Linked DNA regions of Homo sapiens: all the other regions are linked to region 3. The links are contacts of gene promoters, found by promoter capture Hi-C in human tissues and cell types (Jung and others, 2019). All regions are on one chromosome and are shown on one strand. The core of a region is centred on a gene start or on the middle of the fragment in contact, and the rest is flanking DNA. Distances in the headings are between cores, read along the strand shown. Region 1 holds the start of HAUS4 (HAUS augmin like complex subunit 4). Region 2 holds the start of PRMT5 (protein arginine methyltransferase 5). Region 3 has its middle 23 kb from the start of LINC02332. Region 4 holds the start of AJUBA (ajuba LIM protein).

Evidence for each region. The method cuts DNA at HindIII sites, captures the fragments that hold promoters and counts their contacts. A contact is called where the count stands out against the background at its distance.
Region 1: the fragment with the promoter of HAUS4 here is called in contact with a fragment that was not itself captured in region 3 in 2 of the 25 tissues and cell types used here (IMR-90 fibroblasts and lymphoblastoid cells).
Region 2: the fragment with the promoter of PRMT5 here is called in contact with a fragment that was not itself captured in region 3 in 1 of the 25 tissues and cell types used here (dorsolateral prefrontal cortex).
Region 4: the fragment with the promoter of AJUBA here is called in contact with a fragment that was not itself captured in region 3 in 1 of the 25 tissues and cell types used here (thymus).

What each region holds. Positions count from the first base shown.
Region 1 is chr14:22,955,672-22,958,371 of GRCh38, reverse strand. HAUS4 (HAUS augmin like complex subunit 4) reads left to right here and starts at 1,282. Exons shown (of 10, transcript NM_001166269.2): 1 at 1,282-1,456. It overlaps MIR4707 (microRNA 4707), which reads left to right and starts at 1,343; the gene lies at 1,343-1,422. RefSeq lists a silencer at 1-120 and enhancers at 1-498, 499-1,078, 1,461-1,590. The HindIII fragment of the contact is 8,338 bases long and covers 1-2,700 here.
Region 2 is chr14:22,928,055-22,930,754 of GRCh38, reverse strand. PRMT5 (protein arginine methyltransferase 5) reads left to right here and starts at 1,379. Exons shown (of 17, transcript NM_006109.5): 1 at 1,379-1,503; 2 at 2,140-2,258; 3 at 2,544-2,629. The coding sequence starts at 1,394. PRMT5-DT (PRMT5 divergent transcript) reads right to left here and starts at 1,146. Exons shown (of 3, transcript NR_110002.1): 1 at 1,003-1,146. It overlaps TRR-ACG1-3 (tRNA-Arg (anticodon ACG) 1-3), which reads right to left and starts at 1,054; the gene lies at 982-1,054. RefSeq lists a silencer at 926-1,015 and an enhancer at 1,426-1,535. The HindIII fragment of the contact is 24,447 bases long and covers 1-2,700 here.
Region 3 is chr14:22,532,384-22,535,083 of GRCh38, reverse strand. It overlaps TRA, TRAJ11 and TRAJ10. Among named protein-coding and RNA genes, the nearest start is that of LINC02332, 23 kb to the left of the region's middle. RefSeq lists a silencer at 1,909-1,958. The HindIII fragment of the contact is 7,292 bases long and covers 1-2,700 here.
Region 4 is chr14:22,981,219-22,983,918 of GRCh38, reverse strand. It overlaps AJUBA (ajuba LIM protein), which reads left to right and starts at 1,368. Exons shown (of 8, transcript NM_032876.6): 1 at 1,368-2,658. The coding sequence starts at 1,653. RefSeq lists enhancers at 388-1,353, 1,354-2,319. The HindIII fragment of the contact is 6,187 bases long and covers 1-2,700 here.

The DNA.
Region 1 (2,700 bases), core at 33-2,532, 420 kb before region 3:
AGCCTGGCAACAGAGCAAGACTCCGTCTGGAAAAAAAAAAAAAAAAAGATTAAGACAGGTGAAAGATATTTGGCCGGGCAGATTGCTTGAGGTCAGGAGTGCGAGACCATCCTGGCCAATATTGTGAAACTCTGTCTCTACTAAAAATATAAAAATTAGCCAGGCGTGGTGGCTCGTGCGGGTAATCCCAGCTACTCAGGAGGCTAGGGCAGGAGAATCGCTTGAACCTGGGAGGTGGAGGTTGCGGTGAGCCGAGATCGTGCCACTGCGCTCCAGCCTGGGCAACAAGTGCGAAACTCCGTACCCCCAAGAAAACAAACAAACAAACAAACAAAACAGGCGAATGAGGAATGCGCGCTAATAGGGAGTCTGTGGTGGGAATTCGAGAGGAAGGTGACCCTGAGGAAGCACTGTATGGTGCCCGGCATGGGCTGGGCTGGGCTGGGCTGGGCTGGGCGGCAGCGCCTCAGAGCCAGGCCTTAGTGAGGAGACTCGCAGGACGCGGCTTGGGTGGCAGGTCTGGGAAGGTTCCTTCCGAGAGCTATTGGGACAGGTTTAGACCCCCCAAATGGCGACCTCGAACTTAACCCTTTGTGCCTCAGTTCTCCCCCTCTGTAAAATGAGTATAATGGTGACTTTCTCACAGGACGCTTTAAGAACTAAACGAGGCCTGGCCGAGGGCGGTAGCTCACGCCTGTAATCCCAGCACTTTGGGAGGCCGAGGCGGGTGGATCACGAGGTCAGGAGATCCAGATCATCCTGGCTAACACGGTGAAACCCCGTCTCTACTAAAAATACAACAATTAGCCGGGCGTGGTGGCGGGCACCTGTAATCCCAGCTACTCGTGAGGCTGAGGCAGAGAATTGCTTGAACCCGGGAGGCGGAGCTTGCAGCGAGCCGATATTGCGCCACTGCACCCCAGCCTGGGCGACAGAGCGAGACTCCGTCTCAAAAAAAAAACGAGGCAAGGCAAGCAAAATGCTTGGCGTAGTGCCTGACTCATCGTAGGCCCTCAATAAATGTTAGCAATTACCACCATTTTCTCAGCATCTGCCCTTCACTGGGGAGGCACTAATGAGAAGGGGCAAAAAAGCCTTTCCGAGACCATCCTGTTTCCCAGTCCGGGTTCCACCACCCGAGCATGCGAACCCAGGGCGTTGGGAACCCAGCGCGCACCCGTCGAGGGGCGGGGCCTGCCGTTCCCGCCTCGAGTGTGGCCCCGCCTCCACCTCCTTCGTCGCGGCCTCTAGTGCACTTTCGGCTCCTTCCCCTTCCCGGGCCTTTCAGCTTGGTCTTTCCGGGCCTCGCTTCCCCCAGCCCCTGCGCCCGGCCCGAACGAGAGGTTCCGGAGCCCCGGCGCGGGCGGGTTCTGGGGTGTAGACGCTGCTGGCCAGCCCGCCCCAGCCGAGGTTCTCGGCACCGCCTTGAGAGCTTCAGCTGCCCCAGGGTGTGCAGGTTTGCTTTAGAGGGTCGGCGGGCGGAGCTTCGGGGAAGAGGAGCTCTGGGAGAGTCATTCCGGCCAGTGGCCGGAGACCGTCGTCGCTCTTGGGAATCCTTGGCCGCCCAGACAGAAGGGAAGTAGGCGCCGGAGAGCCCGTTCTGCATTTTGATTCATCTCGGGCCCTGTAAGGGTCATATCTTGTGAAAATAACCTGTAAAATCAATTTAACGTTCAGTGCAGCGTGTAAAGACAGCTCTAAGAATTTAAAAGACGCCTGAGTCAGAACATTTAAATGCTTGGGTCCCTGTAGCAGCGTTTTAACACGTCTGAGTGCAGAGGGTGGAGAATCGAGCCTGATTGCCGTTCACGCCCTGTAACCTTTAAGAAGGGTAAAGAAAGGCACCCTAAAAAACGCAAGGGGACACTTACCCTAGGGGGGGACGAACAGCTAGCTTTTTGGAATTTGGGTTGGTCTTCATTTCCAAGTGCGAAATTTGCCTGCAAAACTTTTTATTTGCAGTCATAGATCAACGATAAACAGAATTGTTAAAACACTGAACTTAACTAAGTAGTGGCTTTTGTTGACAAGTCGATTGTGTTATTAATTCTTAATGTCTCATCCAAGGCAGGAATCGTTATCTCAGTTTTGCAGGTGGGAAAAGTTTGGCACAGAAAAAAGCATTTTCCTTAAGTTCTCAGAAGCAACGGCCGGCCGAGCTGCAAATTAAGTCCCAGCATTCTGCCTCCTCAGCTGCGTCCCCCTCTAGACCATGTTAGAAAACAAATGAGTAGTTACTTTGATGTTACTCATAAAACGATCGAGTAAACCAAATGTTCTATAAACATGAAGCGTTAAATCATAATAACCTTCAATGCCTGTTCAGCTTTGGGAGGCTCAGTTGCCCTTTGGAGTTTGATACCTTGCAGAGAGGAGGGGCAGAGCAAAAACATGAAAAGTAATGTCAAGGGAAAATTTTTGTCTCCTGAGGTCAAACTGTGCCCATCTTTACTGCCCCTGTGTTGGTGTCATTCCTTTCAGCGCACTCCATGTTCTGGCAAAACACCCACAGCTCACGTTCTCGTTGTAGCCACATTACACCTTTGCATTACTCTTTTGCCACTGACCTCACTGTCAGTCTTCTTGTCACGCTGTTTCCTCCAGGTGCTCTTTTCTTAGGCTGTTATGTGAAAACCAGTTGTTCAAGTGTGGAATGATTTGTCATTCCTGAAGGATGATTCTAGAGTTAATGATAAAAAA
Region 2 (2,700 bases), core at 130-2,629, 400 kb before region 3:
GCGTGAGCCACCGCGCCCGGCCGGTTTTCCGGCTTTCATTCTTTTGGGGCACTTGCATTGCACCCAGGGTTCCCCAGAACTTATCCTACCCCACACCCTTTTCGTATTTCCTATGGCTCTGTCCCCAACGAGCTATGGTGATCTCAGTCGCATGGCCTCAGTTCTTTTCTTCTAGCGACCTCCATCCAACTTTCTATTACACAGCGCCCCCTAGACGTTCAATTCAGCATGACCAAACCCAAACCCTGATTTCCCAAACCCTCTTTCCGCATTTCTTGCTCACTGCATGGACAGAATCCTAGGCATCACCCCCTACTTTGCTTTCTCAGGACTCCTTGCCAGTCGGTCCCTAAGTTCTGCCAGCGGCGCCTGCGTGGGGTCTCTTGTACCGTGTTCTCCTCTCCATCCTTGCTGCCGAGCCCTCAACACCAGTGGGCCCCCTGCCTTCTGGAGTTCCCATTTACCTCCCTATGTCTTTCCTTGCTTCCTTCCTTTCCATCTCTAGCAGCTAATGACATGAGAAAATGTAGATTCTCTCTGGCCTCCATGCCAGCCAATTTCATGACTGCTGCCCACTGTAATTAATGAATTCCTTTTCTCTATCTTGAGGTGTGTGTGTGTGTTTAGGCGTTTATTTACACCTTTTGTGTTTGAAACACAAAACACTACTTCCTAGAATCACTAGGAAGTAGTAGCTGAGTTAGCAGTTTATTTTAATATGTAACATAGTAAGGTGACAAAGCTCATTTTAATAGCACCAGCCATTAACCCAGTTTTCTCAGTGTTCATATGGACGTAAATAATGACACAAGAAAAACACTTTTGAGGGTAGTTACGGGAAAAGCTGACATTACATGGCTGCATAACCCAACCGACTCAGGATCTGATAATGAAAGCGTGAAGATAATAAAGAAGCATCAAGCTGCGAAAGGAAAGGAAAATTACAAAATGCTCACGCAGCGAAGCTGCGAGGAACCCCACCGAGCCAGCCAGGAGTCGAACCTGGAATCTTCTGATCCGTAGTCAGACGCGTTATCCATTGCGCCACTGGCCCTGAGATGGCACTGTTTCTCTCCGTGATGGTACTTCAAGGTTATACTGCAGGGTTTCATGGGCGGTGTAGTCTCTCAACGGCGTTCTTCAGATAGACTAAGCATTCTGGGAGATTGAAGTTCGTCAGGAACCAGACCCTGAGATTGGTGGATCCATGCCGTACGCCACTGTGCAGCCCGCGGATTGGCAGGAAAAGCCACTCCCCATCCCTCCTGTTCGGGAGCTGTGGCAGACGCTCTGGTTGTTAAGGCGACTCGTCCCGCCTTCTGGGGCACTAGTTTGACTTTGTGATTGGCTACTAGTATCAAGGAATCCCGGCGTGGACAGCGCGAGGAGAAAGATGGCGGCGATGGCGGTCGGGGGTGCTGGTGGGAGCCGCGTGTCCAGCGGGAGGGACCTGAATTGCGTCCCCGAAATAGCTGACACACTAGGGGCTGTGGCCAAGCAGGGGTGAGGGCCGGACCTCCACGAGCGGAATGCGGGGTCCGAACTCGGGGACGGAGAAGGGCAGACTAGTCATCCCGGAGAAGCAGGGGTGAGGGGGTCGGCTAGGATGAGGAGGGGAGAGACTATTACTCTTTGGAGGGGAGGAGCCTCGGACCCAGTAACGTGAGGAAAATAACTTGTGGGAGGCCTGTGGTCACTGAGTCCCAAAGTTGGGAGAGTTGTTGGGTAAACTCTAAAGGGCCCTGGAGGTCGCGATTATTGTCTGGGAGTGGGAGGAGGTGTTAGGGGGCAAGGGAGAGAAGAGGCTAATTTTGACGGGGGAGGCATGGGCAGAACTGGGGCAAATCTGGATGTGATGGTCTTGGAAACATACTGACACCTGAGGAGAAAAAAATTCTACTTGTGGATATCCATCATTTTCTCCTTACTCATATGTCCCATGGCTGTGTTTTAGGGAGAAATTGAGGCACAGTACAGCAGAGTTGATATCCCCCAAGGTGGTCTGAACTCAGCAGCCTAGTAGGCTGAACTGATGGCAGCTGAAAGGGCTGTGCAAAATCAAGATAGCCTAAATCCAGTTGCTTGGCTCTCTGGCACTGCTGCTGTCTTTACATGATTCTGGGTCTGTCGCGGTTGTAGGTTTGATTTCCTCTGCATGCCTGTCTTCCATCCGCGTTTCAAGAGGGAGTTCATTCAGGAACCTGCTAAGAATCGGCCCGGTCCCCAGACACGATCAGACCTACTGCTGTCAGGAAGGGGTAGGGACCATCCCATATGCCCCTTAATTATTAGAGGCAATAACAACTTCTGCTTTATCGGGGCCCTCATTCTCCTCCTTTTCTGACTTGGATATATTTGTTAGTCCCTGGGATATAGATAACTTGTTTTCTCCTTGCTTCTCTATTCTGCATCAGGCTATCCCATGTCTATGTAGAAAAAACCTTTGTCTCTCATTTCTACTCTTGATTCCCAAAACTAAAAATTGAACAAGTAAAGTGCTGAACCTTATTCAGTATTTGTCTTTCTTGGGTGGGGGAGTGCAGACTGGAATACGCTAATTGTGGGAAAGCTTTCTCCATGGATTCGTCCAGACTCAAAAGTGGAGAAGATTCGCAGGAACTCCGAGGCGGTAAGACTGTTTGACTTCTCTGCTGGATTTTTCTAACCAAGCTGGGTGGGGAGAGTGGTCCCCTCCCATCC
Region 3 (2,700 bases), core at 12-2,511:
GGAAAATACAAGAAACAGCGAAGGAAAGGGACAGTCAGAACAAGGGAGTGGCTGCAGCCAGCTCCCCTCTCTTTTCTCCCTATTGGGGTAAATGCTCCCAGCAACTCTGTACTTTGTTTTGTCATTGAAAGGGGAGGAGAACTCTTTAGACACTTGGGGCATCCATGTCAAGATTTCCCGAAGCACCCTCTCTAACTCACAGCAATATCTAAAGTAGAAAAGATAAATTCCAAGCATTTCACCAGTCACTGTGATTGGCATCACCTCTCATTTCTAAGTAAACTAGAGCACAAGCTCTACGACATCATGCAGTAGAAAGAGCAGGGCTTTCAGGTGTGGTGGCGCATGCCTGTAACCCCAGCTACTTGGGAGGCTGAGGCAGGAGAATCGAATCGCTTGAACCTGGGAGGCAGAGGCTGCAGTGAGCTGAGACTGCACTGCACTCCAGCCTGGGTGACAGAGCAAGACTCTGTCTCAGAAATAAATAAATAAATAAATAAAATAAAATAAAATAAAAGAAAGAGCAGGGCTTTTTAGTCAGGCAGGCAGACCCAAGTTTAAATTTAGGCCCTTTACTTACTAGCTTTGGGATCTTGGGCACTTCCTTCTCTGAGCCTCAGTTTCTTCTTTTGTAAAATAAGATACTTCCCCTTACCTCACAGAGTTATTTCAGATGAACAATTCTACATGTCATGCATCTAGCATCGTATCTAAACATGGTAGGGACTGAGATGGTGGTTATTATTTCTATGTTAAGTTAGGTTGTTGATTAACAGGGCTATTTCCTGAGGGTCATAGAATTTGTTTATGAAATACTCACAAGATTCCATACTCTCGAGTCCTATAAACTCTCGGGTGGTATAATAGCGAAATCCCAGAACAACAGATTTTGAGGGCTTTGACCCCCTCATCCACTGGAGGAGTCTGAGGTGCAGAGAGGGGCAATGACTCGTTCCAATATCACACATCCAGTTGGGACCAAATCAAACCTAGAACTCTGGACCGAAACAAGAAGCCCTGGGTTCCTTTCTCTGTACTTCACTGACTCTTCTTGGATGATGTTTAGCATAAGGGGGCACAATCTCTGGAATGAATTGGGAGTGGTTTTTTTGGGGCATGGCTAAAATGACCTTGAATACCCTCTTCTAAATGCACCACTGAGTCCATGGCAGTGGAAGTAGAAAGGATCTATTTGATCATGACGGTGCAATTTTCTGCTCTTCTAGCTCTTTTCTTCCATTGAGCATCGTTTAGCTTAATACTAGTATTAAAAACTCTCACGTTGAAGAGAGCTGAAAATCTCATATCTTGGAAAAAGTCTTAGTGGTTAGCTAAATTCCACCCTAACGAAAGCATGCTTATATAGCCTTTGAATACTTTCACTAATTTATCTGGATGTCACAATTCTTAATGCTTCAGTAATAGATTAAAAATAAGATACAATGACAAAAATTACATCACCTTTTCTTCCACTTATTGTCACCAGAATACATTTTGTAATTACCATAGAATCTCATACTTACTGAGTTCCACTTTTAGCTGAGTGCCTGTCCCAAAGGTGAGTTTGTTTCCTCCTCCCGTGAGTATCACAGTGTTTGATGCCTCACAATAAACTCCCTTTTGTCACTTCACCCCTCTTCTTGATGTGCTCTAATGAGTTAGAAAACACTCAAGCTTTAAAATAGCTATTGAGTTACTCCTAGGAGAAAAAAGTGCCCCAAATGGGATACATTCATAGACTTTTTGTACTAAGAGGCCAGAGAGGCCATTGGACCCACTTCCCCATTTACAGATAAAGAAACTGAGGCTTAGAGGCAAGAGATCTGGTCTAAGTTACATTGCTAGTTGGCAGCAGAGACCAAAACATGGCTCTATTTGAATCCCAATCTAGCATTTCTTCCTCCCCACTACACGCTCAAATGTACTGTGTCATTTGCTTAATTTTCTTCTTCCCTTTGGCCTGGAAACCTGATTTCTTTGGGTGTTTAACTTCAATTAAGCAAGAATTTATCAAGTATTTACTTTTGTAAAAGGACCATATCAGACACTTCATGGAATATTAGAGACTGTCTATTCTCAAGGATCTTTTGGTTCAAATAGGCAGATATTCTCAGTAAGAAAAGATTTCTGTAGCTGCATAGGTCACAGATTGTCTAAGATTCCACAGCTAAATTTGGGATATGGAGGGTTAGAGGAATGTGAAGGGTGCCCGGGGAGAGACCACAGTCTAGGCTTTAAACAGGAAGTGAGTCTATTTCTGGAAAAACCACGTTTGTCCTAATTGTCTAGGGTATTACTCCCTTCTCCATCCTGACCTAGTGAATTAGTTCTACTGTTATTTCCAACTCTTCTATTAGCTATTTTCATTTTTAAATGAAGAGTCCATGGAGGCTCAATCTTAAATTCACAGAACATTGATAATAAAACAAGGATGATGAAATCCATGAGGATAACACGCAATACATATGGAAGCCTTAAACCAGATAGGGGGAAAACATGGGTGGGATGGGGTCAACATGTACCTGGAGAGACTAGAAGCATAGTCCCCTTCCCAAAGGTGAGGGTGCTGTATCCTGAATTCACACTATAGCAAATCCCCATACAAAAATGATTTGCAGTGTTAGGTATTTCAACCCATGATCTACTTAGGGAAAAGGAAAGAAAACCTTCATTTATGAGCCAAATGGATTAATAATCTGC
Region 4 (2,700 bases), core at 119-2,618, 450 kb before region 3:
TCTCCCGCCTCAGCCTCTCGAGTGGCTGGGACTATAGGCGTGCGCCACCACGCCTGGCTAATTTTTGTATTTTTAGTAGAGATAGGGCTTCACCATGTTGGCCAGGCTGGTCTGAACTCTTGACTTCAAGTGATCCGCCCGCCTCAGCCTCCCAAAGTGGTGGGATTACAGGCGTGAGCCACCGCGCCCGGCTGCTTCAGCCAGGGTTTCTTTTCCTTATTCTTGATCCTTTTAAAATAGTCAATATCAGCCTCTTTTCCATCCTGATCATTTTCATTTGCAATTTCCTCTACACGGCATTTCTTTTCTTCCTCTTAATACTTACTCTGTATCACCAGTCTTCTGTGGACCAAAACCAAAGGGAGAAGGTGTTCGCTAGCCCTAAAACCAGGCCTTCGATCTCCACAGTCACCTGAAATGAGAAAAATCTCATTTCCCAACACCAGGGGGTGTCTATCCCTCTAACTGTCCTACCCTTAAGGTAGAGATTAGTCCCAAACCTTTTCCTCACTCCTTTTCACTGCTTCTACATACACACTATATCTCTTTCCCTCCCTCTCAAAGTAGAGATTAGTCCCATTTTCCTGACTCCTTTTCACTGCTTTTACAAATCACAAAACTTTTGGGTCCAGAAGGTGGTGCCTTTTTATTGCAGTTTATCTGTTTGTCTCTCATTCTCTCTGGACAAGCTTGTCCTTTCCTTTGTCTGCGCACCCTTCGGTCTCTGCATCGTCCACACTCCTCTTTGCTCCTCAGCTCTCCCTTTCTTTCGCTACCTCTTCCCTCTTCCACCTCTCTCTGTGGGCTTCGTCGCCTTTCAGGGCTATCTTTACGTACACGTCTCTGAACCTCTTTATGCATTTGTCTTCTTTCTCTCTGTCTTCCTCTTTATGGCTCTCTCCTTGTCTCACCATTTCTGTACCAGTCTCTCTCCATCTCTCCCACAGTCCCCACGCTGGGAACAAAGTCACGGTGCTAGCGCAGAACATGCCTCCTGTCGTCCGGTCCCGGGACGCGACACATTCCACCATGCCCCTCCGCGCATTCCAACTGCAGACAAAGAGTCCCCGTCCCCTACCCCCACACTCTTTCCTATTCCAATTCTTCAGTGTTGTAGGGGCAGCTGCCCCAACTGCCCCTGCCCGCCTCTCACGTCCAGTCCGCGGGTCTCCACATCCAGGGCAGTTAGCGCCTTCCGCTGCACGCACACCAGCTATCCCTGCGCGGACACCCCCGGCGCTCTCGCACACACCGCGCTCCGCCCCCCTAGGAAAGTAGATCCGGCCAGGCAGACAAAAGTTTGGGAGAGAAGTTCGGTCTGTGGCTAGCGTGAGAGCTAGGGGGGCGGGGGCCGGGGAGAGTGGGGCAGTCGGGCGAGTCGACGCGTGAACAGATAGACCTGCGGACTGGACAGCCGCGGCCAGAGACCCTGCTAGCCCCGCTCAGCCCCAGATGCGCGGGGGGACGCAGCCCCTCCCGCTGGGGGATGCTGTGGGATTCCTGGCGCAGGGCATCCAGGCCGCCCGCTAAGCCCCTGTGCCTCCCCTGTGCCCCTGGGGAACCAGAGTCCGGCTGCAGGGAAAGAGAACCGGCCGCCGAGACGCCGCAGGGTGCCAGGCGGGGAGGGGGCGAGAGGCCCCAGGCCCGAGGGCATGGAGCGGTTAGGAGAGAAAGCCAGTCGCCTGCTGGAGAAGTTCGGCCGCAGAAAGGGTGAATCTAGCCGGTCTGGGTCTGACGGGACCCCCGGGCCGGGCAAGGGGCGCCTAAGTGGGTTGGGGGGACCTAGGAAGTCAGGGCCCCGAGGAGCTACTGGGGGACCTGGGGATGAGCCGTTGGAGCCGGCCCGGGAGCAAGGTTCCCTGGACGCTGAGCGAAATCAGCGCGGCTCCTTTGAGGCGCCGCGCTACGAAGGCTCTTTTCCCGCGGGGCCGCCGCCCACCCGGGCCTTGCCTCTACCTCAGTCGTTGCCCCCCGATTTTCGGCTGGAGCCCACGGCCCCGGCCCTCAGCCCCCGCTCTAGCTTCGCCAGTAGCTCGGCCAGCGACGCGAGCAAGCCGTCCAGCCCCCGGGGCAGCCTGCTGCTGGACGGGGCGGGGGCTGGCGGAGCTGGAGGTAGCCGGCCCTGCAGCAATCGCACCAGCGGCATCAGCATGGGCTACGACCAGCGCCACGGGAGCCCCTTGCCAGCGGGGCCGTGCCTGTTTGGCCCACCCCTGGCCGGAGCACCGGCAGGCTATTCTCCCGGAGGGGTCCCGTCCGCCTACCCGGAGCTCCACGCCGCCCTGGACCGATTGTACGCTCAGCGGCCCGCGGGGTTCGGCTGCCAGGAAAGCCGCCACTCGTATCCCCCGGCCCTGGGCAGCCCTGGAGCTCTAGCCGGGGCCGGAGTGGGAGCGGCGGGGCCCTTGGAGAGACGGGGGGCGCAACCCGGACGACACTCTGTGACCGGCTACGGGGACTGCGCCGTGGGCGCCCGGTACCAGGACGAGCTAACAGCTTTGCTTCGCCTGACGGTGGGCACCGGTGGGCGAGAAGCCGGAGCCCGCGGAGAACCCTCGGGGATTGAGCCGTCGGGTCTGGAGGAGCCACCAGGTCCTTTCGTTCCGGAGGCCGCCCGGGCCCGGATGCGGGAGCCAGAGGCCAGGGAGGACTACTTCGGTGAGTGAGAGAAGTGGTTAGGGACGGGAAGGGACCCGTCAC